6 separate regions of the Homo sapiens genome follow, and all the other regions are linked to region 4. Evidence: promoter capture Hi-C in 16 types of primary human blood cells and fetal thymus (Javierre and others, 2016). All regions are on one chromosome and are shown on one strand. The core of a region is centred on a gene start or on the middle of the fragment in contact, and the rest is flanking DNA. Distances in the headings are between cores, read along the strand shown. Region 1 overlaps MATN3 (matrilin 3). Region 2 overlaps LOC105374318 (a long non-coding RNA gene). Region 3 overlaps WDR35 (WD repeat domain 35). Region 4 holds the start of HS1BP3 (HCLS1 binding protein 3). Region 5 overlaps LOC105374317 (a long non-coding RNA gene). Region 6 overlaps LAPTM4A (lysosomal protein transmembrane 4 alpha).

Region 1 (4,657 bases), core at 659-3,158, 650 kb before region 4:
ACAAAAATTAGCTGGGCGTGGTGGCCCATGCCTGTAATCCCAGCTACTCGGGAGACTGAGGCAGGAGGATTGCTTGAACCCGGGAGGCAGAGGTTGCAGTGAGCTGAGATCGCACCACTGCACTCCAGCCTGGGTGACAGATTGAAATGTCGTCTCAAAAAACAAAACAAAAAAAAAGGATAAAAACCAGGTTAAGTCCTGATTTCCTCTAGAGGACTGTTATTCTATTTAATGGTTTGAAGTAAGAGTCCTAGTTCTTACCAATAAATACTTTGGAACTGAAAATTCACGTTTGTATTGACATTTAACCAAATATGAGAGGTGATAAAAGTAACTCCTATTTCTTTATGGAATTCAGTCAGGCAGCTATTCCTATTCAGTATCAGGGCTCCTCCTAAAGTTGTGAATAGAAATAAGAGTAACTTCCCAGGTCTGAAGACTGGTGTATCATCTTCCAATGGAGTAATTCTATTGCCTGAGGACAGGAAATGGTCCTTTGCTGCAACATTTTTACTCTTAACATTTTACAAAGATCCAATATAGGGATGGGAGATCATAAATTCATTAAATATAATCTATCATCTATCCACCTGTCTGAATCCTATTGAACCTTTTAGGGACAGCCAGTCCAAATCCCATCTTAGTTAATCAGTCAATAAACCAGGAAGTATCTATTGAAGATCAACTACATGTCCATTATCCCTGTACCCATAAGATGGGTATATATAATACTTGTTCAGTGTCTGTCGTGCCTGATAGTCTCTAAGCTCTAGCAGGGCATGGGTTCAGTGGGATAGTCTTAATTACAACACTTCATAGAAAATTGTAAACCTGGATTGTAGAAAAATTGAAAGTTGAGAAATGGATCTCAAACTCCATTTCTCAAACCTGGGTTGTAGCAAAATTGAAAGTTGAGAAATGGAGAAATGGTGCTTATAATAGCACCAGAAGGAATAAAATAGTTAGGAATAAATATTTTTAAAAGTACAAGACTTGTACACTGAAAACTACAAAACAATTTTGAAAGAAATTAAAGAAGACCTAAAATAAAATAAAATTAAATTAAATTAAAGACATACCATGTTAATGCAATGAAAGACTGTTAAAATGGCAGTACTCTCCAGGAAAAGATGCCTCACCTCATTAGTAACCAGGAAATGAAAAAAACATCCACTGGATTGGCAAAAATTTAATTCAACAAAACCAAATGTTGGCAAGCAAATTCTGACAAGCAAAAGCATTGAGGGGAGGGTGGGAATGAGTGAGTGCAGGGCATGCTCCTGGACCATCAAAGAGCCCACTGTGGCTGGACCAGGATGCAGGAAGAAGCAGTGAATCTGGGGGCAAATGTAGTAGAAAAGTTTTAAAAGCCAGGATGAGAGAAGTAGTTACCATGGGCTGAGGGGAGCGGGTGATGGGCAGTTATTGTTTCATCGGCACAGACTTTTATTTTGGGATGATAAAAAATTTCTGGAGATGGATACTGGTGGTGGTTGCCCAACAATGTAAATGTACTTAATGCCACTGAACTATACACTTGAAAATAATTGAAATGGTAAATTGTATGTGTATTTTACCACAATAAAAAAAATTCAGACTTAGGCAGAAAGTTTAGTTATTAAGAAAAATGTGAAAAACAGAGAAGACAGAAACAGATCATGGAGGGTAGGCTGCCTGGTATAGGGGTATCATTGTTTTATTCTGTAGACCAGTGGGAGCCACTGGAGAATTCTGACAGGGAGAAAGAATCACAACTGTGTCTTAGACAGAAAGAAAAAAGCTTGCTCCTGAAAAATTTTCCTACCAAAGGAAATAGCCTTAAAGGGCTGATCCTCACCTGAACATGTTTTCTTGTCCTCATTTAAGGTGTAGCCAGGATAGCAATCACAGTGGTAGGATGCGGCCCCATCACTCACACAAATGTGCTGGCAACCATGAGAGCCTAGGGCACACTTGTCACGGACTGACCGCACGTGGTGCAGGAAAGAAAATATTCACACATTAAATAGAAAAGTAAACACAAATGTTTGAGAGGAGAAGCTTCCATTTGGTCCCCACAAGTGCTGAGAATGTAGTAGTCAGTAGTCAGCAACAGGCCCCATGCTGCAGGAGCAAGCCTGTTTTCTCTTCCCATACCTCTCATCCCTTTGGCCTCACATCACACACACTCCTTTCCTTTATATCTCTCACAGATATCTAAGGGTACCTTTCCTTTTTTTCTACCCACAGCACTGGGCAGCACTGAGTCTTGACTATATTCCAGAACTTACCTCCAGCCTTTCCCGATGACTATCAATGCTTCTAGCATCCCCAGCTACTCATGGATCATCATCATCATCACCAAAAGTAATGTTTTAGGGACCTAATCATACATGGAGCTAAGTTTGATGCTGCACAAAAAGCACTATATTGACCAAGTGCCTGCCTTCATAGCTTACAAAGTGTAACAGAAAAGACTGACCAGGAGACACATGCACACACACACACACACACACAAGCACAGATGGGGAAATGATACAGGGTTAGTAATGATGATGTGTATGATTAGAGAGTGAAGTACTTACTATCTATCACAAATAACATTTCAGGGACAAATGCAGTTTGCCCAAATTTGAGTGGAGAGGAGAGCAAAGTGCCATACTCATCCCATGTTCAGACTGGCCTAGGACAAATAAAACAGTAATTCTCCTTTGAAATCCAGAAAGCCTTCCTGGAAGACATAGGTTCCTCCTCTGCCATTGCAGGAACCAAAATAGTTTATTTCCCTCTAATTTTCCTCTTAAATGTCATTTCATGGGCAGAACCTTTTGTGGCTCACTAATGCCTATAGAATAGCTTCTTGTGAAATGTGAGACGCTATATAATCTATACATAAAGTGCCTTTCCAACCTTAATATGGCTATTCCCTTTCAGTGCTACAATTTAGATTTTTTTTTCAGCAAAATGCCTTATAGCAGGGTGTTTCATTTTTTTCCCCCTCATTCCAGGTTAGTACCCACTCTACAGGTGGCAAATGGACATGCTTCCAGCCCCTGGCCCTTATTTGGGGCTCCACATTTAATTTACAAGCCTTCCTACCACTAGCAACGGAAAAGCAGACCATTAGAAGGGATCTGATCCATGGTATGTTCCCCAGCTTTATAGCAGTATTCACTATTACTTTAAAATATATAAATAGGCCAGGCACAGTGGCTCACACCTGTAATCCCAGCACTTTGGGAAGCCAAGGCAGGTGTATTGCTTGAGCTTAGGAGTTCAAGACAAGCTTGGACAAAATGTCAAAACCCCATCTCTACAAAAAAATACAAAAATTAGCCAGGTGTGGTGGCATGTGCCTGTAGTCCTAGCTACTCAGGAGGCTGAGATGGGAGAATCACTTGAGCCCGGGAGGTAGAGGCTGTATGAGCCAAGATCACACCACCGCACTCCAGCCTGGGTGACAGAATGAGACCCTGTCTCAAAAAAGAGAAGAAAAAAAAATATATATATATATAACTAACTTTCCCACTAGTATTCTTTCTCTTCTGTCCCTCTTCACTGTCCTGTGCTTTGTACATTAAGACAGTAAGGCTTAGTGGTTAAGAGCCTATGTAACCACTAGAGGAAGTACCTGGGTTCAAACCCTGGGTCTGCTACTTGCTAGCAGAGTAACCATGGGCAAGTTACTGAATCAGTTTCCTCCTAACGTTGCTGTGAGTATTAAGGTACATTACTGTATCTAAAATGCCTAGAATCCTGCATGGCCTACAGTAGGTATTGAAGAATATGGAATACTGGCATCTGGGAGTGTTGTCTGCCTTAACTGAAAATTTTCTTTGATTTATGTTTTTTTTTAAAATAGATTGCTTCACTTTATTCCATACTATCTGTTAGTTTAAATGGAAATTTGTTTTTGGTTTGTTTTCCCAGGTCTTCAATGTTCCTGGCAGCTTAAAGTACCAACTGGGACACTTGTCACTAGTTTGAGAAGTGCAGCCATAGGTGAGTTCTCTCCACCCCAACTTTCTTAGTCATCCTGCCCTGAACAAATCAGCTCAAGCCAGTCCCCCGCCAGTGCCACTTTCCACTTGTCTCCATTGAAACCTTCACCCTCCTTCAAGGCCCACCACCAGCCCTTCGCAGATGCCCACCTCCCCAGCCTCTACAGCCCTTTGTTTCCATCAGTCCCTCTCCCTGGCTCAGTCTCTGCTTTCATAAGGAGCCGGCTCTCTGTTCACCCAGATTTAACTTGCTCAGAGGCAGAAACTTAGGCTTCTTTGTATGCTCCCAATGCTTAGTTCCATACTGGGAACAAAGTAGGTGTCCGGTATTTTTTTACTGGTTTCCCTTTAAAAAAAAAAAAAAAAAAAAAAAAGAGGGGACTGGGTGACATGCCATTTCCCTTTGTCTATCTTGATGAAGTCTGTATGTCCTCAAGGGAGAGGAAAATATATGTCAAATCTAAAACACATTCAATATGCCAAAGCTAAACGGCACCTTGAGAGCTTGGAATTTCTCTCAGGAGTGTTTTTACATTTATAAATGCCACCCTGTCCTGCCAGTAAGTTTAAATCAAATTAATGAGGATTAACAGCACTGGCCTGGGCTCATTGGCCAACGTATAAGGCTGAGTTTCACCAATGATTGATCGTCTAGAAACTGCCAGGGAGTGACTGGC
Region 2 (5,110 bases), core at 510-3,009, 680 kb after region 4:
TTCATAGTAGGGAATTGCTTAAATTTTGGTTTAGTTCTGTAATGTAGTTCTGTAAAACCTTAACAAACTGTCTTTTCAGAGAAAAAATGACAAGGGAAAAGTGTGGGCTGTTAGTAAAAAAAAAAAAAAAAAACAGAGAAAAACTGCAAAAATTAATTTATATATTAGCTTTTGTGAAGAGGGAGTTTAAAACACCCCAGACTCTCTGGCGGAATCAAATCTGGGCATATTTTATTGAGTAATATATTAGGAAGTAAAATAACTTTGTGTAATTATAAGGTTTTGCTCAGATATGGGTGACTCTTCTCTTGCTTTTGTCTTGCCGGAATTAAAATGACACTTTGTATCTTTGACTATTTCTTCTTCTTCTCCTCCTAGAAGTGGGTATATGAGAAAGCAGGCATGGACAAGAGGGCAGAAGCTGTTGCCATTGGGGAAGTATTCTCTCCTGCGATCTTTTTCTCTTTGTCCTTCTCTCTGGTGCCTGGAGCCTGGCATGGACTCTCCTTCCTTATGTTAAAGTAGTAGGAGGCAAGATCCCAATCCAGGCTTAGGAGAAGCAGAGAAGGTAGGGCCTTTGGTTTCCCCAGCACAAGGAAAAACAGTCCTTCCTCTTGCTCATTAGAGCCACATGTTAGGGCTTGGGACCAAACATCAGGTATCAGTATGATCTAGCTGCACCTTACCCTCTGGATGTATTTATTTCACTCGGAGACCTTTCACATTGTAGTGTTCTAGGACAGGATTGGGTGGTTTAAGCCTTGATCTAATACTATCTTAATCTCATCAGAATTTCTCTCTGTCTCGTCTCTCTCTTGAGAAACTGATTTTACAAATAGAGAATGGCCAGACCGTATATAAAAATAGAACTCTGACTCGCAATCTGTAGCAATCAGTCCAGAAGGACAAACCACAACCTCTGTAGCAATCAGCCCCAAACAGTCAGGAGTTGAATCAATAACTGCCAGCTGCACTATCTTTTGCCCTGTTTCCAGTTTAGAACTAACCAGGGGAAGCTAAATACGCTCTCCTTTCCAATTACACAGGATGCCCTGATTCTAGTGAGCCTACCTCCAGCTTCCCTTATGCCAAAAACCTCCAATAGTGGCATATCTGAATCTTCCCTTTTTGTTCATTATAAAGCTTTTATACTCCACTGCCTACCTTTAGTGTCTCTGAACTGGAAGTAATGTCCTTGCTCTAGCAAGCTCTGAATGATCTTTGCTTGTTCTCATTTGAGTGGTCTTTGTTTCCAGACTTTATCTGTGTATTTTCCTATAGGTATATGACTATATATACAGAGAAATATATACCATAAAGGGAGAAATATCTAGTATCTGTAGAAATATACACAATAACCACAATAAATATATATTGCTATATTAGTTTCATATTGGAAAACTAAATGCACAGGGTGGTCACATTGGAACTCAAGGAAGGCCTGGCTTCCAGCACACTTTCAAGAAGTTCTAAAACTCCAAAAAAGAAGAAAAACTATAGGCTGGAATCAAGGAAGTCTCTGGGAGTGAGAAACTGGAGCAGAAGCCAGGTGGAGACAGGAAGTCAGAGGTCAGTGTGATTTATCTGTAGTGCAATACAATTATGTCAAAGACTAGTCTGGAAGTACTCTTGTGAGCAGAGAGGGAGAGAGACTGAAGGCAGGAATGCTAGCCAAGTCTCTTCAACAGTGTAGAAGAAATTCTGAGATCACCCAAGAAGAAGGGATAAAATACTACTTCTTCGAGCCATATTGTGATGGCTAATTTTATGGGTCAATGTGACTGGGCCACTGGATGTCCAGATGTTTGGTCAAACATTCTGAGTTTCTGTGAGGGTGTTAATGGATTAGATTAAGGTTAAAATCTTAACCTTAATCTAAAGCAGATTTTCCTCCACAATATGGTGGGCCTCATCCAATCAGTTGAAGGCTTGAATAAAGCAAAAGGCTGACCCTTTCTCAAATATGAAAGGATTAGCCCGTTTGAATGCCTTTTGAGTGAAACATCAGCTCTTCATCAGCTCTATCACAGCTACTGGCTGTTGGACTTAAACTATGACATTGGCCCTGTAGATCTTAGACTTGGCCTTCCTAATGACATGAACGAATTCCTTATAATAAATTTCTTTATATATAGGATATACATATAAAATATAGAAAATTTATATACAGGATATAAATATATATATGCGTGCACACGTGTGTGTCTATAGAGGATATATATACATAGGCTACAGATAGAATATATATAGATTGTGTTTCTCTGGAGAACCCTATAGTATACTATAGCATAGGAAATGTTTCCTGTTCTATAGGAACCATTTTTCAAGTTTGATTAGACTTAAAAGGCTAAGCTGGTATTTTGAATGAAGGAAATTGAAGCTTTTAAGCTACAGAATGAAATCATTAGTAGAAATGGAAAAACAAAGAAGGCCAGAAATGATATGGGGCAGGGGAAGTAGGGGATTGGCTAGTTCTCTTTGGAATATATTGAGTTTTAAATGACAGTAGGATATCCAAGAACAGCCGAGGAGCTGTATATGTTTTATAAAACATCCTCTGTAATGTTATTTGAAAGGAAAAAAAAGCAGTGAGATATAAAAGTTTAATGGATTATAGAGAGACTGATTTCTTGAAACAATTATCCCCAGCTCTGACACCACAGGTTATCACCAGTTTTCTTAAGGAATGTCACCAAATTTTAATCAAAATTAATTTTAGTTTATTTTGCTCACTAATCATGATCTGAAACAGCACACATCAGTGGGGATGAAGTGGAATGAAGTAGTCTCTCATATACCACTAATATTTTGCAACAACAGGCAAGTTGTAATTGTTATGCAAAACTGTCTAGATTGCCAGTTTACACTGAACTCAGCAGGTGACCCCTTCACTCTCCAATTCTCTTTGCATGTGCATAACCAGACTCAATGGTGTACAGAGGGACTGCTCAAAAATGTTGACTGTCAAATGCATAAACATGAACCAGGGTTAGAAAAACAGGATTAATGCAGCCTGCTTAATGAGTGTTCTCTGCAGAATGACTCTTCAGCAAGGAGGCAAATGTCCAATAGATTCAAGAATGTAACTGGAGCAGCAAAAACAGGTCCACTGGTGGCGTCACTCTCCGAGCTGTCTGATGCCCTGCTTTGCGCTTCAGTCCCTGCACACTGAATCGTTAACCTTTGGCACTGCGTAGGGTTCAGCATTTCAGAAGTGTCTTGATTATGAAAAATCTGCCAGCACTAATGGGGAACCTCTGACCCAGGTGCCAGCCCAGCCTTACAGCTCCACAGCTGCTGCAATTTTGATTGAAAAACAGGTCTCTGGTGTCAGGAACAAAGTAACTGGGAATTGGGCCACCTGTAATAGTTACACTTTTATGCAAACCATGAAGATTCGTCTTATTTTTTTTCTTTTCTTCTTTTGCTGTCAAAGGACTGATTTCCTACATTGTCTGAACACAACACATACAAATCACCATCTTCAACTGCCTTCTACTCATATATTTCAGTTAGGGACCTACTGCATGCCAGCTCACTGCTAGTTGCTGTTTTTTTTTGTTTTGTTTTGTTTTTTTTTTTATGAGAGAGTGTCATGGTTACACACACCCACGCCCACATACACATGGATGCACATTGGTGCCAGGTGCTGTAAGTCACGTTAATCCTGCCTGGTAGTCAGATAAGAGGGAAATCATTGTAGACTTGAGCAGCTGGGAAGGCTTCTTGGAAGAGGAGTAAGGGGCCTGGGCATGGAAGGATAAGTGGGATAGGCAGAGAAGAAGTGGAAAGGGCCTTTAAAGCTGAGAAAACAGTCTGGATTGGGGCTTTAAACCACTGGAGTTCTGCTTGGAGGTCATGTTTACATCACTAGTAATTAACGTATGACAGACCACAATGCTGATTAAATATTAGCTTACCTATTTGTTGAGCCTTGTATATTCAGGGGATAGTAGACAGCATGCTCTGGATTTTTCAGAAATCCTCCAAAATAAAATGAGCCCCCAAACCCCCAAACAACCTCTGTAAGAGCCCCACCAACGTGTTTCTGTAGCTGTGTTTTCCCAGTTTCCTTTCGTGAAAGGACGTGATCATTGTGTGGTAGAACCCCGAAAGGTAGGCTCGAGTACCTAATGTGCAGTATGCCAAATGCTGACACATCATGGCTTAGGAGTAGAGAAAGGTTTATTTGATTTTGCCAAAGTGTGAGGGCAGGAGAGAGAGGCAAACTCTCAAATCTAACCTGCCTTTGAATATAACTGGGGGCTTTTATGAGTAAGGAAGGTATGCAGGAGGTGAGATCCCCCAATGATGAAAGCTGCTTGTGTCCTTCTGTGATCAAACTTCTGGATGCCACCACGGAGGTCTGCATGACCTAAGGATCATTGTTCTTTAAAAGAAAAACAAGTTCATTCATCTTGCAGGCAGCCCCCATGGGTAAGGATATGAAGTTAATCAATTATGAGTGACTGCCCTCTACCAAAATGACTATGTGCAAGCAGTCATGCTTGGAGGAAGAAAAGGACAGAGAAAGGAAAATAAGTAAATCAAACACCTGATGATTTTTACCATATAGGCTTAGTTGCAATTATACTTCTGTTCCGAGTGAACATGGGATTGTTCTAAAGACATTAACAAAGGTCTTTCATCCTGCTCACTCAGTCAACACAATTTCGGAGAGCCTCTTCTATGCCAAGCACCATTCTAGGAAATGAGTATACCAGTGAAAGAAACAAAAATCCCTGTCCTTATATAGTTTATTTTGTAGTGTCTGTAGTGGGGAGAGATGGTCTTTTAATAAAATTAATAAGTAATTTATGTAATAGTTTAGGAGGTGATTAAGTGATACAGAAAAGGTAAACCATACATGGGTTAAGGAAACAGGTGTACTAAGGTGTAGAAATGCAACTATTTTTCCTGATGCATTTCATGTTTTCATCATATGGTTTTTATTGAGATATTCATGTGCCATAAAATTCGTTCTTTAAAGTATATAATTCATCACTATTTTTTTTTTTTTTTGAGACGGAGCCTCATTCTGTCACCCAGGCTAGAGTGCAGTGGCGCAGTCTTGGCTCACTGCAACCTCTGCCTCCCGGGTTCACACTAT
Region 3 (4,421 bases), core at 1-2,500, 690 kb before region 4:
TAAGAAGTATTAGTTAGACATGGTTGCTATTGTTCTTTTCACTTTTATCACCTACATAGGATTTTATAATAAAACCATATATAAATTCTCAGTTACTACAAAAAATAGAAATATATCTGAAAAATATGTTCTTTTGAATCAGTAAGGTGGTAATTTCAGCAAATTCATATGGGTAGATAATCCTATCTATACATATTTTGCTAGATCTTTATTAAGATTCATCCCATCTAGACTAAGCTTCTAGGAAAAGCAAAACAAAATCTTAACAGATACAATGTTTTAGGACAAGAACACAGCCAAGATGAAGGCCCTCCATGCCCTTTTTGACTGTTCAATATCTGAAAAGAAAAAAATTTGAAATATCTAGAAAGGTTATTGGATTTTTTTTTTTTTTGAGACGGTGTCTTGCTGTGTCACCCAGGCTGGAGAGCTGTGGCACGATCTTTGCTCAGTGCAACCTCTGCCTCCTGGGTTCAAGCGATTCTCCTGCCACAGCCTCCCAAGTAGCTGGGATTACAGGTGCATGCCACCATGTCTGGCTAATTTTCGTATTTTTAGTAGAGATGGGGTTTTGCCATTTTGGCCAGGCTGGTCTTGAACTCCTGACCTCAGGTGATCTACCCACCTCAGCCTCCCAAAGTGCTGGGATTACAGGAGTGAGCCACCATGCCCAGCTTGGAAAAAAAGTTTTTAAGAAAATAATTATGCTTTCATTAACTGAACTTTGTAATGCTAATAGGCAGTCATTACTAGCCAAGCAAGGATGTAAAATAATTTAAAACAATCTTGGAATTCACATATAAATAAAACCTGCTTGTAATATTTTAATGCTAAGGCATGAAATAAATGCCTACATCTGTAATGTTCACCCACTTTCCCATTTATTCATTTCTCAGCCCTTTCAAGTGCTGGTAAATTGAAATTTCACTGAAATGTTTTCATCAAATTAACTTTCTCTAAAATATATGGAAAACCTAGTGCACGTGTTAGATACCATCATTAGAAAGCTGCCCATGTGCTCCCACTAAAATGGCTGCAGCATAGGCAAACTGGTACTTGATGGCCACTTTCCATGCCTTCATTCCTCTGCAAATGCCGTTTTCTTTCCTTGAAATATCACCTAAAGAAATACTTACTTTTCAAAACTCAGCTCAAATGAAACCTTCTCTAAGTAGAAAGATGTCTCTGATGTCCTTATGCACCAATAACCATTTACCTGGCACCTAGAGCAATACCTAGCACGCAGTAGGGAAGCAATAAATCACTGTTCAATGAATTAACTAGGTTTTAATTATTTGTTCAGAAATCCCACAGGAAATGTCATAATTAATTTCTTATTATTCCCAGTGACCAGTACAGTACCTGAAACAGTATATACTCATTGATAGTTTGCTAAATAAATGAATCATCATTTTTTATTTACATGATAGAAAATAAATAATTTCCATGCATTCAATAAACATTTATTATGGGCCAAGGCAGTGTTAGGTCATGGGGATACAGAAGTTAATTAGACGTAGATCTTTAAGAAGTTCAAAGTCTAGTGGGGAAGATAGACAAGAAAATTAGTAACCACAGTGCAGGTTAAGAGGTATTTTGGATGGAAGCACACCAAAGGTATTATGAGTGCTCAAGAAAAGAACACCAAAAAAGGATACCTAACTCTCATGTGTAGAGTATAACAGAGTCCCACAAACTACACTTCTATAATAATCTATAAAGTTCATTTTAAAGTTTCTACAAAAATTATAAAGAGGAAGAGTAGGTGGCAAAACAAAAATAATAAATTCTAGAAGAGTATCACTCACAGACTTTTTTTATTTTAGCCTCTAGTCCTCATAAACATTTGGCATAGAAACTTTAAAAAAGAAATTTTACAGGATATGTATGAAACAAAAATGTTGAGTCTTTGGCTGTGTTCACTGCAGGCCAATGAAAGAACTGTTTGTTAAAATCTCAGTCAGCAAGACTACAAAAAAAAAAAGTTTTGAGACTCAAAAATACAAATAGTCATGCTCTCAAGTATTTGCCATTTTATGAAGAAGGATTTACATTTAGCTTTATTTTAAAAAAACAGTCTACTTGTGATAAAAATTACTTTGACATTAACCCTATCACCATTATGATTCTATGTTAAAACTTTGGATATTAAAAGAAAAAGCATATAATCTGAAGACTGACAAAATTTACCTCTTAAAGACTGTTAATGCTTCTAATAAACAAGAGATATTTATGTGATGAGAGTCTGTTAATAATTTTAAGCTAAGCTTTTTAACAAGGAACACTAATGTGTATATATATGTGTATATAAATATATACACATATAAAACATATAAACATGCCTATGTAGCAATGAATGTAAGACATGAAGTTGAAATGTGTCAATATATCTAAGTGAGTAGGTTATCAAGACCCTAAGCCATAGAGTATAAAGTCTTTGAGGTCATTATTTCTCATATTTGCTATTATCACCCAAACACTTAGCAATTTTTTCAACAAACACTTAGCAAAATGCAAACACTCAAAAGGCAACAGGCATTAATACTTAATTGCTTAGGCTAAATGTCCAATATGAAAAAAAAATGACTAGTTCTCAGGTTCTCAGGAATAATGCAATGGGTTTTTAATTTCTTAGATTTAATAATTTTTACAATACTGTATCCAATATACTACCATACACATTAAAAGAAAATCATTACTTTTGGAAGTTACAGTGAAATGGCAACAAAATACTTGTTAATGATTTTTAATAATCTACTTAGAATAAGATTTGGAATTTTTAATGGGTTACTTTCATAGTTATTGGGTAGAGGGAATAGTAAATCTAAAGTAACAAAAGTCCTTTGAAAACAAAAAGTCAGGAATTTTTAAAACTGTCCCTATTAATAGACTCATTTCATTAGAAAAATCTGGAAAGGGCAAACTCACTTTTACAAGCAGCCAAAGTGTTTTTATGGAAGAGAGGTATTTACAAGCAGTTTATTAATAATGAAAGTGGTTTAATAGCAAAATTCTTTCTATAATCCTCAGTTTATTACATACTAATCATTACGCTGCATACCAATTCCTACACAATTATATTTCCCATTTAAAGCGAATGATGGTACTATAGCAGTTGTGAAATTATAATGGATTTTAGATAGACTAACCTTATAATTTACTGTCTTAACCAGGATACTTTTGAGAGTAAAATGGGATATTAAGAATTCTACCATGGTAACAGATATAAACTGGTACTGGATCTGACAAAGTAGGAAGTATGGTCATCCTCGTTTTAGAAAACACCATTCTAATTAATAATACCAGTGTTAGGTTTTTAAATTAGTGTTACAAATAAAACCTGATTGGAAAAGAAATAAATATCAACATTTCCTTACCAATATCAATGTATTTGGGATCCAAGGGTGTACCAATAGAATTACAAAGAACTAGTACAAACTGTGAACAAATAAAACAAAAAGTATCAGAACTCCTGCTTATGAATAATAAAGGAAATATGCTTAATATATATCATGCTTATCTCTTTTTCAAGTATTGCTAACTGGGAAATAACTGATGAAACTGTTACGTGCAAAAAATAGCAGACAAAAAGAAAGATGATTTACAGCATTAAATATAAAGAAAGATCAGTTAATACTAAACCAAGGCTGCTTTCTCAATGTAATGGAACACTGTGGTTTTTAAGAAGACACAAGAAACACAAGTACTCTGGCTACTTTTCATCATTTATACAAGGGGTCTTCAAAAAGTTTATGGAAAATGTGTATTATGGAAAAAATAAGCATGGATTTAAAAATTGTTTGCATCAAAATAAACGTGCACTAACTTGTTAAAACATGTTTGAACAGGATCTAGTTTGAAGCACTAAGAAGGAGATGGCAGCAGTTTGAAAAAAAGCCCTGTCAAAGAAACATTAATTCTGCTAAAATTGAAGCAAGAAAAAACATCAAATTTATGGTGCAGCTTGGGTGGAAGAATGGTGAAATCATCAATCCTTTATGAAAAGTTTATGGGGACAATGCCCTAAAGAAATCAGCAGTCTACAAAAGGACAACTCACTTTAAGAAGGGACAAGACAAAGTAAAGATGAAACCTGCAACAGCAGACCATCCATGTCAATTTGCAAGGAAAAAATGAATCTCATCTTGTTTCTGCCCTAATTGAAGAGGACTAACAATTAACAGCAGAAACAATAGTCAACACTATAGACATCTCAACTGGCTCAGCTCACACAATTCTGACTGAAAAATTTGAGTTAAGCCAACTTTCCACTCAATGGGTGCCAAATCCGTTGCACCCAGATCAGCTGCACACAGGAGCAGAGCAGTAAATGGAAATTTCAAACAGGTGGTATCAAGAACCTGAGGCATTTCTTCAAAAATTGCAAAAGGAGATGAAACATGGCTTTGCCTGTATGATCC
Region 4 (4,956 bases), core at 1,451-3,950:
TGTGGTTAAATCCAAAGGTGAATCCTCATTTCTCCTCTGGTCTGACTTGTCAGCAGCAGTGGGCACAGTCAGCCACTCCCCTCCTTCAAGCTCTGCCTTCACTGGTGGCTGGAGCACCCCCTCACTCTTGGTTCTTCTCTGCCCACCCTGGCCACTCTTGCTCAAACAGGAGGAGAGGAACTGCTTTGGATGGTTCCCCTTGATAGCATCCAGAGCACCCTCCTTCTTCCTCTCACTGTACCCCTCCCCAGGTGATCTCATCCAGGCTCCAGGCTTTAAATACCATTTCCGAGCCAATGGCTCCCCAACTCCCATCTTTAGCTCACTCTCCCCTCACAGCCAGCCTCCTTCCAGCTGCAGCTGCCTGACATCCCCACTGGGCTGTCAACGAGCTTCTCAAAACTCACCTGTCTACACAAATGCTGCTTCTACCTCTCCCCAAGCCTGCTAAAGGGCAGCCTCATTCTTCCAGCAGCTTAGGCTGAGAGACTTGCCGTTAGTCTTAACTTCTCTTCTTGTTCTCACACCCCATATCCAAGCATCAGCAAACCTGAAAGCTCAATCTTCAAAATATATCGAGAACCCAAACATTTCTCACCCTCACGGCCGCCATCACCCCGGGCCAAGCCACCACCGGCTCTACATGGAAACCTACAAGCCTGTCCTGAATGCTCAGCTCGGCCACTGCCCATGCTCAGCATAGCAGCCAAAGGATCTCTATAAACCAGAAGTTGGGCCCTATTGCACTTGAAATTAAATCTGATGGCCCCTCCACAGCCTTCTCGGCCTTTCCTGATCATCCTTCACTCCCAAGCTTGCCTCTTCACCGCATCACCTAACACTCTCCCTGGGCTCACTCCACTCCAGCATACCAGCCTCGGGACCCTGGCTCCTGCTGTCCTGTCCTCCCAGTACACACTTTTCCAAGATTTCTTTTTCATGGCTCTCTCCCTCATGGAGCTTGTCCGGGATCTGTCCAGGCGCCACTCCATCAGAAAGATGCCTCTTTACCACACCATAGAAAACAGCATGCATGCCTCCTACCACTCTGTTGCCCCCACTGTTTTGTTTTCCTTCATAGCATGTATCATCCCTGACATGTCGTAGATTTGCCCACTGGGCCTGTGCCCTCATTAAAGCTCTACGAGAGGGACTTGTTTGTCTCCTAGAACTAGGGCCAGTACCCGGTACAGAGAAGGCTCTCGATAAACACCTTCTGGCTGAATTCAAGCTTGAGTGCATGTGGCAATGACATGTGGGAGGAGATCGGGCTGGAAAGAGGAGCTGGGGTGCGACTGGGAAGGGCCGGCCTTGCTGCTGGGCTAAGGCGTTTGGACTCACCCTGCAGGCAAGATCCTTGGGTGTGCTGGTGCCCTCAGCAAGAAATGAGCCTGACTCATGTGGCCTTACCACCGCCAGCGCCCCCACATCTGTTAACAAGCCACGTCCAGGCTGTGCAGCGGGGCAGGGAGGGAAGCCACCCACCCCATCCCAAGCACCCAGCACCAAAGTCACACCCCATCCATCTGCACATGGCTGAGGGGCATATACTACTGACGTTGCTCATGCCTGCCAATCTGAAACCTCCAATTCACAGAAAAGGAAACTGAGGCTTGGTGAGAGGAGGTGACGTAAGTGGCAGTAGGGAAACCTCTTCTGCCCATGAAGATACAACTGTAACCACACTTGATCATGAAAGACCAAGCAGCCTCCGACATCAGGGTTTACAAAAGGAATCATACCTTTCTAGACCTGAAGTCACGGGGAATTCCTGATTACAACTGGAAGATCAACAGTTGGCTGGGTAACACGTTCATTTATGTCATAAATTGGCATCTTAGCCTAAGACTTTGTGTAGGGAGAGCAAGGGTGAAGTGTATGAAAATATTTGAAGTAAATCACTTTACAGCGTTTTAAAGGCGGAAAGAAGTAAAAGCACGTGCCTCCCAGCCTTGCCAGGATCCACCTTGGGCTGGGTCCTCCAGGTCTCGATCAGGGCCGACCCATTCTGCATCCTCCGCCTGGACCCCTCCAAGGCTTTTGCTGTAACTTGCGCTCTCCTGAGCTGCCTCGCAAGCAGCAACGACCTCTCCCTGGTCTCTCATCAAACTCATCCTCCCAGAAACCGGGTTCCTGCCCTGTACTGTGTTCCCATGGCAACCTGAGCTTACTACCCGCTGCTGGCATCACCCCCTCTCCGCTGCAGCCCCCTGCAGGGCGAGCTTGTCTGATTCGCCTCTGTCCCCAGTGCCCAGCACCGGGCCTGGGACTCAGGGAGCTCTGAAAGGATGGGGAACTAGATTTTCGGGCTCAAAAGAGAAGAACCCAAGGCGGTAGGAAAGGAGAGCAGAGTCCCCACTGCGCCCGCCTGCACTGAACCAGTCAGTCCCAGGGCTCCCGCTGTCCTTGGCTAGTTCTCTACCCTCCAGAGGGCCTCGGTTTCCTCATCTGTAAATCGGGGTCGCCACCTCTCCTGCAGGGCGGTGCAGGGGCCCAGCCCGGATAAGCCACCGAGGGCGCTGGGGAGACCTGCACCAGGTCCCTGGCCTAGGAGGCGGCGGCCTCCCCCCGCCTCTCCGCCCGGGCGCCCCGGACTGCGAGCTGTGCGGTGTGGGGCGCGGGGGTCTGGCTCACCTGGAGGTGACGAGCACCGCCGGGGACTGCATGACGGCGGCGGGGACTCCGGGCGGGGCGCGCAGTCACGGGACCCGGCAGTGCCCGCGTCACCGCGTCCCCGCCCTGCCTCCCGCTGCCCTGGCCTGCCCCCTGGTGGCAGCGGCCGCGCAGTTCGCGCCTGTGGCCAGAGGCGGGGCGGAAGCGCGGCTGGGCGGGTCCCGCACGGTCGCCGTCGGCCTGCGCTGCTCGGAGCTTCCGGAGCACCCAGGCTGAGCCGCGCCCGCCGCAACCACCTAGAAGAAGCCCAGCCTGGCCCTGGCACACGGTGAACCTTAATCGGTGTGTCTGTTTTGCGCTAAAGTTTAGCCGTTAGAGAGACGGGACTCTGCTGTTTCCGCCGCCAGTCCCCATTACAAAACCACTCCCCCTCTGCCCCAAGACCATTTCATTCAACCGATCGGTCAACAAATATTTACCAAGCTGGGGCTCTGTCCAGGCTTCGTGGGGTCTTCTTCAAGCTGCACAGTGAACGCCACGCAGCAGCCCAGTCCCCTTGAGCTTGCTGCCTCCAGCTAGCTCGCCTATCTGGTTCCTACTGCCTGCCCGCTCCATAAATGGCAGGCACTCTCCCGACAGGGGATCTTTAGAGAGGCAGCCTCTGCTGCTTGGCAGAGCCCTGGTGGAGGCCTCCCGGGGCCGGGCCTGCCTGGGATGGCTGCACTTGGGTCCCCAGCTGGAGCAGGGCAACGGGGTCCAGGAGCCAGTTCCCCTCAGAAGGGGAACGTACAGACATGCAGACCCTAACAGACCCACTCATTTTAGATTCACCTCTCCATGGGGTGAGGAACAGAGAGATCGTATCACCTGCCAACGTAGCCCAGGGAAAGAAAAGCTGAGTCTGCAAACAGGGCCAGCAGAAGGTGCAAACTGCTGCCCCTGTTCTGTTACTCCCTCCACCCAGAGCCCCAGTGACAAAAAGAAAGAGAAGCTGGGCTTAACTATACCAGAATTCACGGCAGGGCGATGTCAGCCATGTTTCCTGAGCCTATCAACCACCGCCACCAGCATCACCAACAATATCTACCAGTTTTTACAGATTTTAGTGAAGAAATCCTACAGTAAAAGATTTTGAAAAATGACTTTCCCCAATGTATCTCTTGAATAAATACGGACATTGATATGCCTTATTATTTGTCTCAGATTTGTTTATAGGCAAGATGAGCAATCATGAATGAAGTATGACAATGAATGAAAGTTCTGAGGGAGACCCTTGAAGGCTGCAGTGAAGAGCTGGGATGATGGCGGGAACCCCTGTCTGCTCTGCTGCTCATCGGCCTGTCCGTCTGCAGGGCCGTGTTCATGGCTGCAAATGGTCCTCCGTGTTTTGTTTAAATTGGCATGCCCTACTTTAGAGAAAGGGAGTTCAGGGTCTGGACAGAAAGCAGTATAGGCTTCAGCATTCCAGGAGTCTGAGTGTAGTGCCAGGCAGTCGAGCAGTCACCATTGCACTCACATTTATCCAACAGACAGAAACACAGTGAATAAGACACTTTAGATGCCTTCAGTGGACTTCTTTGCCCTCCTACATGGGGAGTGGGTGGGGGTCTGGAAAGGCTTTCTAAAGGAGCTGAAGTCCAAGGGAAAACCTGAAGAAATATGGATAGAATAGATTAGAAGGAATGTCACGTGCAAAGCCCTAGCGACAGGATAGGAACACCAGGGAACAGGGGGAAGAGGCCAGCAGGAGCCAGGGTGTGGACAGCCTAGTGCACCAAGGCCAGGGCTTTGCCTGATCCTGAGGCCAACACAGCGCCATCAGAGGGTCAGGGACATAGGAGTGGCTGGGCCAGCTAGGGCGTGGGCAGGGTTTTGGAGCATGTTGAAGGTATGAAGATGAGCTGGACTGCAGAACAATCCAGACAAGAGACAATGGTCCCATGAACTAGGGTGATGGCCACCCAGGTGGAGAAGAGGGGACGGGTAAGAGGGCCTTAGGAGAAGGAGTTGGTCAAGACTTGGGAATCCAATGGGTGTGGGCGGGAAGAGATAAGATACCACTATGGTTTGGCTCTTGTGAGTGGCTGGACATTGGTATCATTCTCTGTGGCAGGGCACCTGGAGAAGGAGCATATTTTTGGTAGGATGATGGGTTCTGTTTCAGACAGGCAGTGTTTGAAGGGCTGGACCTATTGATGCGATTGGGTTTATGGCCCTGGGCCTCAGGAAGCCGACCTGGGCTGGAGACTGACATAGGAGTCATGGGTAAAAAGGAGGCTGTTGAGCCTGAGAGTTGGGGTGAGCCCACCAAGGATGGTCTACAATCCAGAGATATGCAGCGGT
Region 5 (4,424 bases), core at 30-2,529, 590 kb after region 4:
ATCTGTGATTATACATTATCCTGTATTTCAATTTTTATCTTTCATTACTTCCCAACTGGAAGCCACTGATTACATATTTGCCTTGTTTATTTTTACTGCTAAAACTTTGCATGTCTGTGCCCCTACTTGCAAAATCTCTCTGGGACCTCCTTCCCTGTTGAATTTCCTTTCATTACAGATATAAGATAGGCAAGGGGGAGAGGGTTGAATACTTTAGGATAATCTTAAAGTGAGGAATGCCACAGGTCTCTTAATTCTGGTACTCAAATCTAGTCTCTCCAGTAGGATTTTTAACTATGCAAGGCACACCTCTTTATGTGGTAGGTTTTATAGAGCAGAAATAACTTTCATTCAATTTGTATTTTAGAGATTTTTTTTCCCATTTGCTTAATATCTTAATGCACATTAGACAGGGAAGGAATAAAAGAACTTCAGGATGGGTCTAACTTTGGACCATAATAGCCTACAAAAACCCCAACATTGTTCCCCTAGATATTGGCAGTGTTCCCCATAAGCCTCATTTTTCTAGAAAGACTGAATAAACTGATCAGATGTTACCCATGTGTGCCCACTATAAATATGCACAACTCTGTAATCCTATCATCACTGCTATTATAATCACCTGTACCTGAAAGTATACCTCCCATCATGGGCCCACTCTTGGGGGAAGTTTTATCTGTTAGGGAGGTCACAAATATTTTAATTATTAGAGGACCTGTCTTCAACGAGGTGTCATATTTGAACAAAGCTGTCATCCAGTAACTGGAAACAAATGTCAATGTAGAATAAATTTGTTTTATAATTAGCATTCAATCTTTGATGTCAAATGGATATAATAATTTAATGGTAATAATTAGACTTTATTGTAATTAGCTTAAAAATGATTGATACATTCAGAGCCATGCAAATTTGTGGAGAGCTGATTTTTAAAAATCTGTGTATCTTCCTTAGTTGAAAACTACTCTGACGATGTTGATTTTGGCCAAAATATTCTATACATTTAGTGCTAATTCAATACCATTTTCAAGTGTTTAAAATATTGACAAATTGACTTTTACTTTCTTCTTGAAGGAAAATTTAAATAATAATGGGCAGAAAATTTTTGGAAAAAAGCTTGGGGGGATATGCCCTACCAGATATCACAGTATACTGCGAAGTAAATGTGGTGGCAATAATATGGTACTGACATAGGAATATGTAGATAAATGAAAGAAAAGAGAAAATTCACAAACAGAGCCTAGTTTATATTAGAGTTTTATATATGATGGAGCTAGCACTTCTAATCAATGGAAAAATGTTGATTTCTTAGTCAATGATCTTGGAAGAATTGGCCTGAGTTAGCAAGAAATCCATTTTACACATTAATAAAGCTCAGCTGGATTAAATATTAAATTTTTCAGAAATCCTATTATGAGAAGAACATTTCCTCTTAATCTTTTCAGTAGAAAAGCTTTTCATTGCTTGGCACCAAGGCCAGAAACCACAAAGGAAATGAACACAAATTTGACTTCATAAAATCTAGAATTTCTGTATGACAAATTATAACATTCATTCATTCAGTCAACCAATATTTATCATGTATCTACTACCCACAAGGCATAAACTGGAACCATATATAGTTAATATGCCATACAATGAGTTAACATTTTAAAAGCATAAAAAATTCCTACAAGTCAATAGTGAAAAGATGAACAACCCAAGAGAAAATGAGCAAAATACATGCAAAGGTAATTTATCAAAGTACAAAAAGGCCAATAAACAACTGAAAAAATGTTCCATAGTCAAAGATGTAATTTAAAACAACAATAATATATAACTTTTCACTTATTGTCTTGCTAAAGATTTAAAGGATTGATAATATCCACTGTTGATAAGGGTGTAAGCAAACAGGCATTTCAACTTCTGGTTTGAAAATACACATTGCACAGTTTTTAGAGAACAATTTTGCAAGACCTGACATTTAAAATTTACATCACTTTTTACTCAGCAATTCTATTTCTAGAAACAAATCCTAAAGAAATTACTGTTCAAGCGTGCAAGAATTTATGCAAAAGGTGTTTATTTGTAGCAATGTTTTTGCTAACAAAAAATGAAAATCACCTAAACACCTGTTTATAGAGATTAAACAAATTGTTACATCTATATGATAAAATTCTTTGAAACTGTCTAAAATAAGGTAATTATTTGTGTACCTACATGGAAACATGCCCACAATATATTATATTAAGAAAGTCAGCTTTATAGTATAAAGAGAATGACCTCATTTTAAGAATATGTGTGTATAGGCATTCAAAAATATGTATGAATATAGTACTACATAGAAACAGCAAAAAAGTGTTAGTGCTGATTGTCTTTGAAGGATGGAATTCCAGGGCACTTGTATTCACTTCCTTAAATATGTCAGTATCTTTTGGATTTACATAAATAAAGAGCATGCTTTTATAATAAAAAGGAATGTTCTCATTTGAAGAAATTGAAATCATAACACCATAAAAATAATGCATAATGATTATTTAAGGGCACAACTCTCTTCTGCATATATTTTCAATAAGGATTTATAGGATCTCTAGCCCAAATTTTTTTTCTTTTTTCACTGAGAAATTTGCTTTGTCAGTTCCCAGTTATTTTGGTGAGCACTTCCTTAGGGTCAGACACTGAGGGTCACAGAGAGGACTGGGACAAGATGCCTAACTCTAGCGATCTTGACACCTTATAATGTGGTCAATTTGATATAGTAAGGAAGATCTTTTAGCGGGAAGAGGCCAGTCAATTCAACTGGATTAGAACCTATGGGGTCCTGAAGAAATGTATTTGAAGGAATCCCAGAGATTCATAATAAGAATATTTGCACCAATGAGTCTTGAAGTTAGTTCACTGCCTATCTGTGGCCATATTGGACCAGAAAAATGCCCTTCTTTTACAGAAGGAAGCAGAGTTAGGTGCTACTTCCATGAATGCACTGACTACCTAGTGGTTCTCTTGGATCTGTATTTCCAGAGCAGCCCTTAAATCCCTACTTCTGGTATCTCTTCATTCTTTGGCTCCTTCGTTCTTTAGAAAGTGAGAGCTTGCCTTGAAAACACCAGACAGCGGCAGGCCAATTCTTTTGGCTGGTAGGAAAGTGCACAATGTATCTGATCATCAGTTTCTTATAGGGACAAGCTAACTTTGCTTGTGGATAGATTGACAGAGTTCTGCTTCTCAAACTCATGCTACTGATCTCCCTTGTTGTGATTCCCCTGGGCTCAGAAACTCTCCTGCCTCCATCCTCTTATAGAAAAAAAAGTTCATCTGGCTTCCTATGATAAGCAGAGCCTTTCATGCTGGTTTGCCATGGTCTATGATAGAGCCCTGACATTGCTTGTTAAAACTCACAAGGGTGAGAGCACAAACGTGTCAGTCAGCCCTGAGAGACATGATTACACATGGGCTCTTTCCTTTTGGTCTCCCTATATCCTGTGGGGTGGAGGGGGTAAGCCATTCACATAATTCACATCACTGAGTGCACAGTACAGAATGTGAAGAGGAAGCAGCGGCTATAGAGATTCAGAGGAAGGAGATATATGTCCCGTTAGAGACATAAGAGGCTTAAAGGAGCAGGTAACACATAGGACGTGTAGGATTCTAATGAACGGGAGTAATAGAAAAAATGTGGAGAAATGCCCTAGGTATCCCTTTCCTATAGGGATCAGGTGGCCTCTGGGATGGGATGGGAGGCCTACATCATTGGGGTACTTGAGACTCATGTGTCACCAAAATATACCTGAAAACATATGATTGTTCTGTAAAGCCATTTTGGGGCAGAAGAACACGAAGATGGAGGTATATAGAACCTGAGATGTGTACATCACTGGGGTCTGGAAGATAGGTAGGTTTACAATGGCTCCTTGTCAATGGTAATAAGAAAAGAGAAGCCTGTAGGGTTTTCAGGGACTTTTAATAGAAAATCAGAAACAACAGGGTTGTTGCTCAATAAATCTGAGATTCTGATTGTATCTTTCCCAACCATGGCTCAAGCATATTTTCTCTCAACCATAACCTCTTCCTGGAATGCCCTTCATTGTCTCTGTTTATATCCTGCTTATCCTTCAATGCCCTATCAAAGTGCACCTTCATTGAGTCCCTACAGGAGTGATGTGCTCATCCTATGAGCTCCTATAGCTTTTCATACTTCTTTTATGTCTAGCATTATTTATGTATTACCTTGTGGTCACTTGATGATTTCATATGTTCCATGTCCCCTGTATTAGGCCATTCTTGCTTTGCTATAAAGAGACACCCAAGACTGAGTAATTTATAAGAAAAGAGGTTTAATTGGGTCATGATTCTGCAGGCTGTACAGGAAGCACAGCAGTAGCATCTGCTTCTAGGGAGGCCTCAGGAAGCTTTTACTGATGGCTGTAGGCAAAGTGAGAGCAGGCACG
Region 6 (4,994 bases), core at 616-3,115, 610 kb before region 4:
TGACACACTACAGATTTACTGTCTCAACTTCCTGAATTTAGGATCAGCATGTAATCAGTATTTCCATCTAAGTTACTAACAAAAGAGAACAGAGGTGAGGACAAAGCTGCCAGAGGCTGCCCCTTCCCATTAACTAGCAACTTCTGAATAAAATTGTTTAGCTCTTTAGAGGAACAGCCTGCTGAAATCCCATTATAATATCTGAATTTTCCTAGTCTCCCAGGGTTGTAAATCCATTTTAAAAGGAAATGAGTTGTGCCTGTAGTTGTTGGCCAATCCCTGTGGTATCCCAGGAGGCTTCACTGCATTTAAGTACTCAGAAAGAGTATTGTTAACGACTCAAGACAGAAATCTCACGTAGGATTGGAGTTAGGCTTCCTTATCTAGCATAGTAAAGTTCACAGAATTTGCCCTCCTTCCCTTTGTGAAAATGTGAACATCTGGAATTTTCAAGGGTTAAGTTCCTATCAGTAGTATTTTAATTTATTTAGTTTTTGAGATGGAGTCTCGCTCTGTCGCCCAGGCTGGAGTGCAGTAGCGCAATCTCGGCTCACTGCAGCCTCCACCTCCTGGGTTCAAGCGATTCTCCTGCCTCAGTCCCCGGGGTAGCTGGGACTTTTTTTTTTTTTGAGACCAAGCCTTGCTCTGTCACCCAAGCTGGAGTGCAGTGGCGCAATCTCAGCTCACTGCAGCTTCCACCTCTTGGGTTCAAGCAATTCTCACACCTCAGCCTCCCAAGTAGCTGGGACCTTTTTTTTTTTTTTTTTTTTTGAGACCAAGCCTCGCTCTGTCACCCAGGCTGGAGTGCAGTGGCACGATCTCGGCTTACTGCAGCTTCCACCTCTTGGGTTCAGGCCATTCTCACACCTCAGCCTCCCGAGTAGCTGGGACTACAGGCGTGCACCATTCAAGCCTGGCTAATTTTTGTATTTTTAGTAGAGGTGGGGTTTCGCCACGTTGGCCAGGCTGGTCTCAAACTCCTGACCTCAAGTGATCCACCAGCCTTGGCCTCCCAAAGTGCTGGGATTACAGGTGTGAGCCACTGTGTCGGCCAGCTATCGATAGTATTTTAAACAAACTATTATATACTTCTCTCCTGTTTCACCTTGAATGATAAACACACAGGAAATGCATTTTCCTTTTATCAGCTGAAGTCATTTCACTAACATCCGCTAGATAAGCAGATCAAGTTTTATTTTAGGGTAGGTGATCTAAACAATGCCACAATATGAAATTTGGAATCAACCAATATTTATTGAGGATATGCTTTATGACATGTGTATTTACGTGTATTACTTCACTTATTCCTCACAACAACCCGTGAAGTAAGTATTACCAAAGCCTATGTGTAGATGGGGAAACTTAAGATTCAGTAAAGCTATATAACTTGTGTTAAGCTTGCTGAGCTGACAGATGGGAGAATCAGGACACAAGTCTGGTTTTTAAGACATCCTCCTTCTCAGCACTACGTGATTATTAATAAACATTCCCCAGTAACTCCTATTTTAAGGTCTTTCCCAAAGAAACCATTATCTAAGGCTATAAAATGTTTAGACTTTACTGTCTATGTTCAGCAGCAAGCCTCTTTCCTTGCATTGTTCAGAGGCAAGGCATGATATCTTTCAATTCTTGAGAGGACTTACCAGGAACAATCACTTTTGCAAGGTGGCTCTCCCCAGTTGAAAGCTGATTTTTTTTGTTGCCCACATTTGCTGCAATGGGTTTTGGCCAGCGTGTGTGGTGTATGAGTATGAGCTAATACAACTAGGTGAATTAATTACTGAACTATCAGATATATCTACTAAAACGTTATATGTTCTGTGTATGGAAATCAGTTTGAAATCAATTAGGCAAACTCTTCTTTGCTAAACACAGCATAGTCACAGTGAAAAAGCTCTCTGCGGTACAGAAATTCCTTTGTCAAGAAAAGCATGCAAACCCAATTACTAAATGAAGGGAATGACATGCCAAAAACATTTAGGAGTTCTATTTTCCCTTCTTAAATATTTTTATTACATGAAGGATTTCTAAAAATCTCACACCTATAGTCCCAGCTACTTGGGAGGCTGAGGTGGGAAGGATCGCCTGAGCTCTGGAGACCAGCCTAGGCAACAATACTAAGTCTGTCTCTTAAAAAACAAAAGAACTCTTCACTTTTCTTCTCTTCCATGGATAAGTCACACGCTCATCCACTATTATCTTCTTTTAGTACTAGAGACACTTCAAGTTTAATTTCACTGTGGGTCATACCACTAAATATTAAACAAAATAAATCGTAGGGCCAATCAGAAGGACCAAGAAACAGTGAAATAAATTTCAATGCTACTTCATTAAAAGCTTTTTCCAAATCTTCTTTGAGTTAATTATATTCCATTAGATCACATCATTTCATTAGAACCCCAACTTACATCTTAAAGTATTACACTGGAAAACCCATCCTTGTGACTTAAAAAAATTTTTTTTGTAGAGATGGAGTCTCACTATGTTGTCCAGTCTGGTCTTGAACTCCTGGCCTCAAGTGATCCTACTGCATTGGCCTCCTAAAGTGCTAGGATGACAGGCACGAGCCACCGCTCCTGGCATCCTTTGATCTTAAAGATATTCACCAACGAACGCCTACCTTGTGCTCACATGTAAGCCCTGGCAACTTATCTCTGATTAAAGTTGATATTTCTAAATTACATGTTTAGCTTTTCAAAAAATACATAAAATTAACTGTAATCTTACAATACAAAATTTCTCTGAAAATATCCAACTATGTACTAACTATTACAAATATTTATTCCTGATTCACTTTTTCCTTTCACTGTATTCAGGAAAGAAAGTTAATAAAAATGTAATTTAAAAAGAATGATTAAGCTGGGGACAGTGGTGTGTGCCTGTAGTCCCAGCTGGTCAGGTGCCTGAGGTGGGAGGATTGTTTGAGCCCAGTTCAAGGCTGCAGTGTGCTATAATCATGCCATTGCACACCAGCACAGGCAACATAGCAAGACCCCATCTCTTTAAAAAAAAAAAAAAAAGATTAAATTATTAACTTCTAAACTTGGCAATATGGAGAGGTATAGAATGCAGCAATATTTTAGCAGCATGGGCTGCGGATTCACCACTCAATGTGTTAACAGTACTGTAAATTTAATCAGTCAAATCAGGTGGTGTGCATTGTTTTTGAAAGCTTCTACATCTTATGTAAGTGTGTACAATAAGAAATCTGTTAGATTTGACTTGTTACAAAATAACTGTATCAGATCCATGGAAGCACAGGGCCTGAAGAGAGGAATTCTTTGTTTTCTTCTTTCACTGCCACACCTATTCCAGAAGATTCTCTGGAGACTTTAAAAAAAAAATCATTTTTCAGTTTTCCCACAGTAATTTGCCCAGAGCCAGTATCTACTGAGATAATAATTAAAACAGTGTGTCTGGTTTAAGGAGGCATCCAGATAAGGGCTTCCCATGCAGAGAAAGCACCCACAGGAGGGTCAATCTACAGAACTAAGCAAAGCCTGTTATCTGATAAAGATCAAAATTGACTATCTTTAAAACGTTTTTTAGCCATAAAAAAGGATTAGTTCATGTCCTTTGCAGGGACATGGATGAAGCTGGAAACCATCATTCTCAGCAAACTATTACAAGGACAGAAAACCAAACACCGCATGTTCTCACTCATAGGTGGGAACTGAACAATGAGAACACTTGGACACAGGGTGGGGAACATCACACACCTACACCAGGGCCTGTCAGCGGGTGGCGGGCTGGGGGAGGGATAGCATTAGGAGAAATAACTAATGTAAATGATGAGTTGATGGGTGCAGCAAACCAACATGGCACATGTATACCTATGCAACAAACCTGCACGCTGTGGACATGTACCCTAGAACTTACAGTATAATTTAAAAAAAAAAAGTTTTTTGTTGTTGTTTACTGTTACATGCAGATACAACTGAGTATTCACAATATTTTTTGGAGGAGACATTCATTCAACAAATGTGTAATGAACACCTCAAATGTTTTAATTAATAAGTTAGCCATCACACACATTTTATTTTGAGACAGGGTCTCATTCTGTCACCCAGGATGGAGAGTAGTTACTGCGATCTAGGCTCACTGCAACCTCTGCCTCCCCGGCTCAAGTGATCCTCCCACTTCAGCCTCCCCTGTAGCTGGGACTACAGGCATGCACCACCACACCATGCCCCGCTAATATATATATGTATGTATGTGTGTGTGTATATATATTTTTATATGTTTTATATATATTTATATATTATATATCTATATATAAATATATATTATATAAATATATATATAATATAATATATAAATATATATATAATATAATATATATTTTTTTTTGGTAGAGAGGGGGTTTCGTCATGTTGCTCAGGCTGGTCTCGAACTCCTGGGCAATCCACCTGCCTTGGCCTCCCAAAATGCTGGGATTACAGGCGTGAGCCACTGCCCTTATAAAGACATCACCCTCTTCCCTCCAGGAGAACATCTTGCTGTAGAGAGAAAAATAAGAGAAAAGGACAATCCTACCAATGTGTACTGAGTACTATTTAATAAGTACATACAAGAAGGATCCAGAAACTTTTGCAGGTGCACCGTGAGAAAAACAGATCCCCCTGGCTAGGAAGTAAAGAAAGCTTGGCTGGGCATGGTAGCTCACGCCTGTAATCCCAGCACTTTGGGAGGCCAAGGCAGGCAGATCATGAGGTCAGGAGATCGAGACAATCCCGGCCAACACGGTGAAACCCCGTCTCTACTAAAATACAAAAAATTAGCCCGACATGGTGGCGGGTGCCTGTAGTCCCAGCTATTTGGGAGGCTGGGGCAGAGGAATCGCTTGAACCTGGGAGGCGGAGGTTGCAGTGAGCCGAGATCGCACCACTGCACTCCAGCCTGGTGACAGAGCAAGACTCTGTCTCAAAAAAGAAAAAAAAAAAAAAAGGCCGGGCGCGGTGGCTCACGCCTGTAATCCCAGCACTTTGGGAGGC

Evidence for each region. Contacts are between HindIII fragments. The CHiCAGO score rates a contact against its expected background, and 5 or more counts as called.
Region 1: a fragment that was not itself captured here is called in contact with the fragment with the promoter of HS1BP3 in region 4 in 1 of 17 cell types (naive CD4 T cells); the score reaches 5.8 in naive CD4 T cells.
Region 2: a fragment that was not itself captured here is called in contact with the fragment with the promoter of HS1BP3 in region 4 in 1 of 17 cell types (M0 macrophages); the score reaches 5.6 in M0 macrophages.
Region 3: a contact is called between a fragment that was not itself captured here and the fragment with the promoter of HS1BP3 in region 4, in 1 of 17 cell types (fetal thymus). The highest score is 5.3, in fetal thymus.
Region 5: a fragment that was not itself captured here is called in contact with the fragment with the promoter of HS1BP3 in region 4 in 1 of 17 cell types (M0 macrophages); the score reaches 5.7 in M0 macrophages.
Region 6: a fragment that was not itself captured here is called in contact with the fragment with the promoter of HS1BP3 in region 4 in 1 of 17 cell types (naive CD8 T cells); the score reaches 5.1 in naive CD8 T cells.

What each region holds. Positions count from the first base shown.
Region 1 is chr2:19,995,297-19,999,953 of GRCh38, forward strand. It overlaps MATN3 (matrilin 3), which reads right to left. Exons shown (of 8, transcript NM_002381.5): 6 at 1,838-1,963. WDR35-DT (WDR35 divergent transcript) reads left to right here. Exons shown (of 3, transcript NR_110235.1): 2 at 3,910-3,981. Among named protein-coding and RNA genes, the nearest start is that of WDR35-DT, 7.4 kb to the left of the region's middle. The HindIII fragment of the contact is 260 bases long and covers 1,779-2,038 here.
Region 2 is chr2:21,330,263-21,335,372 of GRCh38, forward strand. The region is part of intron 2 of LOC105374318 (a long non-coding RNA gene); the gene reads left to right. Among named protein-coding and RNA genes, the nearest start is that of TDRD15, 210 kb to the left of the region's middle. The HindIII fragment of the contact is 1,237 bases long and covers 1,142-2,378 here.
Region 3 is chr2:19,957,177-19,961,597 of GRCh38, forward strand. It overlaps WDR35 (WD repeat domain 35), which reads right to left. Exons shown (of 27, transcript NM_020779.4): 11 at 3,378-3,438. Among named protein-coding and RNA genes, the nearest start is that of WDR35, 31 kb to the right of the region's middle. The HindIII fragment of the contact is 2,030 bases long and covers 236-2,265 here.
Region 4 is chr2:20,648,398-20,653,353 of GRCh38, forward strand. HS1BP3 (HCLS1 binding protein 3) reads right to left here and starts at 2,701. Exons shown (of 7, transcript NM_022460.4): 1 at 2,635-2,701. The coding sequence starts at 2,666. LOC105373466 (a long non-coding RNA gene) reads left to right here and starts at 2,885. Exons shown (of 2, transcript XR_001739320.2): 1 at 2,885-2,955; 2 at 3,578-3,803. RefSeq lists enhancers at 2,048-2,127, 2,148-2,297, 2,382-3,119 and a silencer at 2,378-2,967. The HindIII fragment of the contact is 7,312 bases long and covers 1,230-4,956 here.
Region 5 is chr2:21,242,425-21,246,848 of GRCh38, forward strand. The region is part of intron 1 of LOC105374317 (a long non-coding RNA gene); the gene reads left to right. Among named protein-coding and RNA genes, the nearest start is that of TDRD15, 120 kb to the left of the region's middle. The HindIII fragment of the contact is 337 bases long and covers 1,112-1,448 here.
Region 6 is chr2:20,042,462-20,047,455 of GRCh38, forward strand. All of the region lies in intron 1 of LAPTM4A (lysosomal protein transmembrane 4 alpha), which reads right to left. Among named protein-coding and RNA genes, the nearest start is that of LAPTM4A, 6.7 kb to the right of the region's middle. The HindIII fragment of the contact is 940 bases long and covers 1,396-2,335 here.